Linked DNA regions of Homo sapiens: region 1 is linked to region 2. Evidence: promoter capture Hi-C in 16 types of primary human blood cells and fetal thymus (Javierre and others, 2016). All regions are on one chromosome and are shown on one strand. The core of a region is centred on a gene start or on the middle of the fragment in contact, and the rest is flanking DNA. Distances in the headings are between cores, read along the strand shown.

The links. Contacts are between HindIII fragments. The CHiCAGO score rates a contact against its expected background, and 5 or more counts as called.
Region 1: a contact is called between a fragment that was not itself captured here and the fragment with the promoter of CIAO2A in region 2, in 1 of 17 cell types (fetal thymus). The highest score is 5.3, in fetal thymus.

What each region holds. Positions count from the first base shown.
Region 1 is chr15:65,185,568-65,189,933 of GRCh38, reverse strand. It overlaps LOC124903509 (a long non-coding RNA gene), which reads right to left and starts at 939. Exons shown (of 2, transcript XR_007064683.1): 1 at 692-939; 2 at 187-477. RefSeq lists a silencer at 4,344-4,366 and an enhancer at 4,075-4,366. The HindIII fragment of the contact is 1,691 bases long and covers 2,270-3,960 here.
Region 2 is chr15:64,092,134-64,096,397 of GRCh38, reverse strand. CIAO2A (cytosolic iron-sulfur assembly component 2A) reads left to right here and starts at 2,560. Exons shown (of 5, transcript NM_032231.7): 1 at 2,560-2,753. The coding sequence starts at 2,630. SNX1 (sorting nexin 1) reads right to left here and starts at 416. Exons shown (of 15, transcript NM_003099.5): 1 at 226-416. The coding sequence starts at 384. RefSeq lists enhancers at 93-172, 313-432, 2,148-2,877, 3,238-3,287, 2,923-3,485. The HindIII fragment of the contact is 2,171 bases long and covers 845-3,015 here.

The DNA of each region.
Region 1 (4,366 bases), core at 1,866-4,365, 1.1 Mb before region 2:
ATAAGCCAAGAGTTCATATTCTCTCTTTCATCTCTTTTTAAGTGTTTCATTTGAAATCAAGCAAGTTCCTCACAATGCTAAAGTACTGTGAATAGGGTAAGATCCTCAACTAGCTGGCTAAGAAGCATGACCGAAAAAGTAATTTTTTATTTTTATTTTTTTATTTATTTTGTATGCAACTCATTGTTTATATTTTTTGATTTTTTTATTTAAAGGAATTTTTAAAGGCATAAAGGGAAATCCATAATTCACAACATTGCACAGGAAAATATCTTTATTACTTAGTAAGCACCTACTCACTATAGCAAGTGCCAAGGGATCATTTATTCCTCACATTAATTCTAGGAGGTCAAGAGCACCCCAATTTATAGTGGAAAACAGGCTTATGGAATTAACTTACTTACCAGAGGTCACATGGCTGTTAAGGAACTCAGCTGGGATTCACACACCAGTCCTTCTACTCCTGACGTCTGTGCCCTTTAGTAAATACAAACAAGAATTCCCTAGCACTGTCTTCAAGATTTGATACACTGAAAGTTCCACTGGATTAATTTTAAGAATGCCCCCAAAGGATTCAGAGGGAAGGGTGGTAAGTTAGCACCATCTGCTGACCATCTCCCTGAACATCAGGATGAGGAACAAGAGGCAGTCTAATTGAGGACAAGGGGGATCTCATGCTATCTAAGGTTACCTCCAGCCCCCAAGGGCAGGCCCAGGAAAATGATGAGCGCCTCGCTGTAGTCCTCTTGGTCACCCTACAATACCAAGGTTGGGCAGTGACTCCCTGAGGAAGAAAGTAGTAGCAGTTGGAAGGAGCCTAAAAGAGACCTTGAGAAAAAAAGGTCCAGACTTCTATCAGCACAGTGGAAACATATCATTTCTGCAAATAAATCTTAGCATCTCCTGATTCTAGCATCCAGCAATAAAAACAGATTCCTGAGCCCTCCTCCAGACTATTTTGTCAAAATCTTTAGGAGAGGGGCCTAATGTATTTTAACAAACAACCAAAGTAATTCTTTTTTTTTTTTTTTTTTTGAGCCAGAGTCTCACTTTGCTGCCCAGGCTGGAGTGCAGTGGCATGATCTCGGCTCACTGCAACCTCCGCTTCCCAGGTTCAAGCGATTTTCCTGCCTCAGCTTCCTGAGTAGCTGGGACTACAGGCACACATCACTGTGCCCAGCTAATTTTTGTATTTTTAGAGACGGGGTTCACCAGGTTGGCCAGGCTGGTCTTGAACTCCTGACCTCGTGATCCGCCAGCCTCAGCCTCCAAAGTGCTGGGACTACAGGCCTGAGCCACCGCGCCCGGCTACAACCAAAGTAATTCTTAAGTAAAGGAAAGATGGTGGGTCACTTCCTTAATAGGAGGGCAGATTTTTATTCCTTGATGTGAGATGTTCCTGGGTAGGGGGTAGAGATTCTGCAGACCCCTAAAATCTCATCAGCTTTTGGAATAAGATATAGAGAAGTAATGGAAACCCATATGGTGATTTGGATTTAAGTCTGGGTTCTGCTGTGACCTTGGGCAAGTCACTTAAACTCTCTGTGTCTTGATTTTCTCAGCTTCAAAACTGGAATGCTGATAATAACAATATATCATTTGGTTGTTGTAATAATCAAATGAGAAAGTGGATGTGAAAACCCTTTGTAAGTTATAAAGTTCAATACGATGTGTTAATATTATCTTGAGTTCGCACCACCTACAGATGCAGGTCCTTATCTTTTAAAATACTGAGTTCCTCAATATTTATATTTATATCCTTCCAGGGATAATCAATGTCTGCTGATATGAAGGAGCAGGGTTTGGCCATGAAAAAAAAAGTCTTTATTCAGAGGATACAAAGATTCCCAAAAGAATGATGACTCTCTGAGAAGATGTGCCAGAATTTCTGGTGGAGGAGAGGAGAAGCGAGATTTTTTGTTGTTGTTGTTGAGATGGAGACTTGCTTTGTCACCCAGGCTGGAGTGCATTGTCACGATCTCAGCTCACTGCAACCTCTGCCTCCCAGGTTCAAGCGATTCTCCTGCCTTAGCCTCCCGAGTAGCTGGGATCACAGGCGTGCGCCACCACACCCGGCTAATTTTTGTATTTTTAGTAGAGACGGGGTTTCACCATGTTGGCCAGGCCAGTCTGGAACTCCTGACCTCAGGTGATCCACCTGCCTTGGCCTCCCAAAGTGCTGGGATTACAGGCGTGAGAAACTGCGCCTGGCCGAGAAGTGAGATTTTTATGTTTATCGAAAAGAGTCTTGGGTTAAAAAAGAAAAGCTTGAGAAATACAGTTTTAAAGCCAGAAGACTCCAGCTCTATTCTCTGTTTTTCACTTGTTATGTGACCCTGGTCAAGTATCTGCCTTTTCAATAGGCCTGTTTCCTCATCTAAAAAAATCAGGGTTAATATTGAGTGAGTTAAGACTCATGGACTCTAATTTATTAAAATATTTCTTATAGCAACTCATAATGCTGGGAGGTAAAATCAAGTATAAAAGAAAAAGAGGGCCTGCATGGTGGCTCACACCTGTAATCCCAACACTTTGGGAGGCCAAGGCAGGCGGATCATGAGGTCAATAGATCAAAACCATCCTGGCCAACATGGTGAAACCCCGTCTCTACTAAAAATACAAAAACTAGCTGGGCGTGGTGGTGTGCGCCTGTAGTCCCAGCTACTCAGGAGGCTGAGGTAGGAGAATCGCTTGAACCGAGGAGCCAGAGGTTACAGTGAGCCAGGATCGCACCACTGCGCTCCAGCCTGGCCACAGAGTGAGACTCCATCTCAAAAAAAAAAAAAAAAAAAAGACAAAAGAAAAAGTTTTACATAAAATGAAGACATAAAAAGTTATGTGCCTGACTGGGTGCAATGGCTCATGCCTGTAATCCCAGCACTTTGGGAGGCTGAGGCAGGCGGATCACTTGAGGTCAGGGGTTTGAAACTAACACGGCCAACATAGTGAAACTCTGCCTCTACTAAAAATACAAAAATTAACCGGGCATGGTGACGCATGCCTGTAATCCCAGCTACTCAGGAGGCTGAGGCAGGAGAATCACTTGAACCCAGGAGGCAGAGGTTGCAGTGAGCTGAGATGGTGCCACTGCACTTCAGCCTGGGTGACAGATGGAGACTCTGTCTCAAAAAAAAAGTTATGTGCCTTCAGCTATGTAGTTCGCAAAAAGTAAATAACTCAAGGAGTTAACTCCTCCAGTGTAAACTATTTGAGCTGGAAAACTGCACTTGACTTTCTTTTTAAAGCGTCATTAATCTGTCAGAAAACAGCTGAAAGTAGGTGTGATGTGGAAGGGCTGATGTGACCACAAGTATTTGCCATCACTTTCCTGGTGAAGGATCCATTTTCTCACAGGGATAATCTCAGATGGCTCTGGGTTTTTTTTTTTTTTTTTTGAGACGGAGTCTCGCTCTGTCGCCCAGGCTGGAGTGCAATGGCACGATATCGGCTCACTGCAACCTTCGCCTCCTGGGTTCAAGCAATTCTCCCACCTCAGCCTCCTGAGTAGCTGGGATTACAGGAGTACGCCACCACACCTACCTAATTTTTGTATTTTTAGTAGAGATGGGGTTTCACCATGTGGGTCAGGCTGGTCGCAAACTCCTGACCTCGTGATCCACCTGCCTCGGCCTCCCAAAGTGCTGGGATTACAGGTGTGAGCCACCACGCCCAGCCGGCTCTGTGCTTTTGAATTCATAACTTGAGAGGATGGCCTGATAGGAACCTGACCAGAGGTTATCTATGCAGTGCCATCCTTAATCACGGCCGGGTGCGGTGGCTCACGCCTGTAATCCCAGCACTTTGGGAGGGCGAGGCGAGAGGATCACTTGAGCCCAGGAGTTTGAGACCAGCCTGGGCAACATAGGGAGACCTCATCTTTACTAAATTAAAAAAAAGAAAGAAAGAAAAGAAAACCCTCAAGACTTTAAAGCACCCACGGACTAGCAACAGCTAGAAGCTTTATCACCACGAGGCCTGAAAGAACAAGGAGACGGAGCTGTTACCAACTAACAATTGCTGCTCAGGGAACTAACTGACAATACCAACTCCATGTTACAAGTGATGAAACTAAGGAGAATGAGAAGATAAGGAACACAGGATGTGGAATTCCGGGGGAAGAAATTTAGTGAATCTGAAGCATCCAGCGCCTACCAAGGCACTTTAGAGACTTCCCCCTGGAGGGTTAAGCCACCAGCCTCACCTTGACCTTCCCTGCCGCCCACTAAAAGTGACCGGAAGAGCTCGACTATGACGACTCGGGACTACAAGTCCCGGCATGCATCTCTCCGCGTCTATCGCAAAACCTTTCAACTTTAGGATAAAAGGGCTTTTGGCAACCTTGAGCGTCGGGACCTGTAGTCGCCCC
Region 2 (4,264 bases), core at 1,311-3,810:
AGCCGACGAAGGCACCACAACCCTCATTCTTTACTCTTCCCGCCTGGGGGCCGGGAAGCCAAGCTCTACCGCTTCGAGCACATCCAGGGTCCCCGGGGCCCGGACTGCTGACACCGAGGCAAGGTCTCACCGGGCCCACTCTGCCCAACCTCCCCGATTCTCGCTTAGCCTCTCTTCCCTTTCGGGGTGCCCTCCCGCCTGCTACCCCGAGGGGTGCAAACTCACGACCACCGCGGCGCCGGTGAAAATGTCCTCCCCCTCGGTGTCGCTGTCCCCAGCCTCGGGTTCTGATCCCCCGGCCGCCCCCTCGGACTCCGGCTCCAGGCCGGGGAAGGGCGGAGGCAGTCTCTCCGAAGCGCTACAGCCACCACCACCCGACGCCATCTTCTTCCACCCGCGGCGGAAGCCGCAACAACAACTTTATCGAGAGATAGCGCCGTGAGCAAAGCGATCCAACGGTGCGAGGAGTGGGAGGGCCGCAAGGGACCCCGTGGGATCCGAGGGGCGGAGACCTAGGGGCGGGGCTTAGGCGCTGGGGGCGGGGCGGCACCCGGCCAGCTGAGGCTGCGCAGCAAATCCGAGGCCTGGTTCGCGATGCTGAGATATTAACGAGTGGGGCCAAAGGGGCAGAAAAGTAGGAGTTAGGGGCTGCTCAGGTTTCTAGGGCCCTTTGTGCTCTGGATAGCTTTATCCAACAGGCTTCTAAGAGTTCGTCTGAATGAAGGAGTGTCACTAAAATGTTTGAAAACCTCTACATGCCATCTACCCATGCCAAGCACAATGCCCTCACAGAGAGTCAATAAATATTTCGATTGAGGTATCTGAACAAGACTAGAAGAAAGCTTCACCACTTATTCCTTGAGCAACATTCAGTTAATTCATTAAGAAATACAGATACTGAGCATCTACTGTATGCCTGGCACCTTGCTGTGAGTTTCAGATACAGAAATCAGGTATTTAATCGACAGTTCGACATGTTCAATGCTATGGTGCCCTGTGGGAGCACAGGGAAAGAGATAATCAATTCTGCTTGGAGAAGTAGGGAGGCCTCACAGATGAAGTGAGGCCTCAGTGTCCTAGATTTGGCTGGAAAAATGTTAGGATTATCCTCTCAATTGCTGTGGAGTAAGTGGAGTGGAATAGACGGCAGGGAAATTATTGAACCCTGACCAAAATTTCCTTGGGACCTAAGCAATTCATTGTCTGGTGATCCTAAGGCCTACATTAACTAGACAAACAAGACTGGAGTTTAAAGATAAATGGGCATGTTAGCATGGGACAATTCTGCAAGATAATCCTATCTTCTCAATAGAAATGGCATTTGTCACCAACTTTGACAAGAGGTTTAGTTAGTTTGGTTGTAACTGCAAATTCAGGGATGGACTCCCTCACAGGTCATGTGAGCTGTTTGAAGGCGGGGGCAGCGTTTTATCTTTGTATCTTCCATGCCTATGGATCACCTATGGCAAATTAGTACCTACAAATTTGATCGGAGGGATGGATGGATAAAATAAAATCGATTTTGTTACTGGCATCCATCACACCCACGAACACCAGAGGGCTTAAGATACACTTTTTTTTTTTTTTTTTTTTTTGAGGGAAGTCTCGCTCTTCTCCCCCAGGCTTGAGTGCAATGGCTCGATCTTGGTTCACTGCAACCTCTGCCTCCTGAGTTCAAACGATTCTCCTGCCTCTGCCTCCCAAGTAGCTGGGATTAAGGCCCCTGCCACCACGCCCAGCTAATTTTTGTATTTTTTAGTAGAGACGGGGTTTGCCCATGTTGGCCAGGCTGGTCTCGAACTCCTGACCTCAGGTGATCCGCCCGCCTCGGCCTCCCAAAGTGCTGGGATTATAGGCGTGAGCCATCGCGCCCGGCCAAGATACACTTTTAAGGATGGCGATCTCCATTATGTCACCACTGTACACATTAGACACGGGAAAACTTATGTTCTAAGTTGTCTTTGGAGGCCATTAGCAGAAATATTCGTTCAAAGGTGGGAAGCTGTGCTGGACTGAGTCCCTTAGGAGACGAGAAAGCCAAAAAGCCCTCCCCATGCCATACCTGACTACCTCACTGGCTTCCCATGACATCCCTTTTCACAGCAACTGAAACCTACTTCCTGTCCGATCAGGAAGTAAGAAAGACGTTGGCTGTCAGCGGATCCCGCGGAGAAATAATTGTAAAGAGTCTCCGTGCTGGAGAACTCAAGATCTCCTTTCCCCTACCCCTTCAGGATTCATCTTTAACTTATCACGGATACTGAGTGAGTCAGTCGCGGTTAACAGACCGTTACATCCACTTCTACCAGGCGGACACTACAAGTCCCAGAATACAATTCGCTGCCTTCCGAAGAAAATAGCTCACGCATCCCAGCATGCAATGTGCTGACGAGCCGCGAAGATTGTTTTTGTCCCGCCGAAATCGAGCAAAGCACGCTGGAACTTGTAGTCCTTGAGGCCCCTTCCCTAGGTCCTTCGAGCTACTCCGTCTGGCCCCGCCTTTTCTCTGCTCTCCTGAACCTTTAGGCTTGTCTCGGCCCATTTGAAGACCAGGAAGTTGATCAATCCCGAGGCTGCTGAGAGACGGTGGCGCGATTGGGACAGTCGCCAGGGATGGCTGAGCGTGAAGATGCAGCGGGTGTCCGGGCTGCTCTCCTGGACGCTGAGCAGAGTCCTGTGGCTCTCCGGCCTCTCTGAGCCGGGAGCTGCCCGGCAGCCCCGGATCATGGAAGAGAAAGCGCTAGAAGTTTATGGTAATTAATTTTACCCAGCACAGCATTTGGCGTTATAGGTGCAGGCCGGAGCTGAGGGGTGCGGGGATGATGGCCTCACCTGAGGGCTGGGAGGGGAGACCTTTTTTTTTGTTTGTTTGTTTGTTTGTTTTTGGCCAGATCTTGTCCGGGGCGTAGCAGGCGCTTTCTTCGGGGTCCTAAGTCACGTGGGGGGTGTGGGTCTTTCTGGGAACTGGGCTCTTCGTAAACCTGGGGCAAGCCGAACCCAGAGGTCTTAAAAGCTTCATTCTCCACGTGTGGCCTACGTCTTAGTAACCATTCCAAGACTTGTGGGGAGACCACAAGTCTAGGGTGCCTGGTTAGGAAGCAAAGCTGGCCTGATTGCACTACTAGAGCCTCGTTCTCTAGCTCCTGGACACGCACTCTTGCTACCGCTGAGGGCGCTTGTGGGTGACAGTCGAGTTGGGGACTGGCCCAAGGTCACAGCCACTCTATCCGGCAAAGTCAGTAAGCAGAGGTCCCCGAAAGAAGAGAACGAGATTGGCTTCTTGTAGCAAGGCCTTGTGTACACACACATAACGCACACACACACATACACACTCTTCCATGTTGCATATTAAATATTTTCTGTTTAACCCTTGGGGCCATCTTTATTGTACAAATGAGGAAACAAAGGTTAAAGAACTACCTGGAGGTCACACTGCCAGTAAGGAACAGAGCCAAAAAGCAAAGGCTGTGCCTACTGGTTCTAACCGTAATGCACTTTCCACCACTTCACAATTGCCTTACAACTTTTTGTTTGTTTGTTTTTTTAATTATGTTGTATTGTTTTTGAAAACCGAAAAGACTGGATATAATATTGAGAGATCTAACCATAGAATACAAATATAATTCAAGTAAGGATTATAGGCCAGTAGAAGGAAGCCAGGGTTAGGAAATACTCTGGGAGCTAATTTGGTTGACCTCTCTTACTAGAGGCAGGACTTACCTAATCAGCCTCCAGGCAGATGATAATTGTGAGTAAAATGATCTCCACAAAGCAGACCACATCCCTGTCCTGCCAGATCTCTGTCCACATAATCTAGGGATGGTAGGGCACTGGAGATACAACTTTGGAAGAGAGTGACTCTAGTCTTCAAACTGATATTGAAGGAAACCCATATATGCAAAAATAGAGTATGTAATAGAAGGCTGTAGACTGAATAAGAGATACAGAAATTCAGAGAAAGGGAGATACTAGTCTCTGACTGAGGGGATCTAGAAAGACTTTGAAATAAAGAGAAGGAGCCACTTGAGTTGGGCCTCAAAGAATAATTAGGATCTAGATATGTAGAGGGTCAGAGGGCATACTAAGAGGAAACTTAAAAGCATGGAGGTAAGAAGATAGGAAATGACAGATAGATGGGGCTATAGGATAGGGTTTGTGGTTAAATGTGAAGATGTGGTTGAACATTGTTCTAGGTAGTGGGATGCAGTTGGATACTGAAGGTTTTAAATATAAATGAAGAATTTTAATAGTGCAGTGCTGTGGA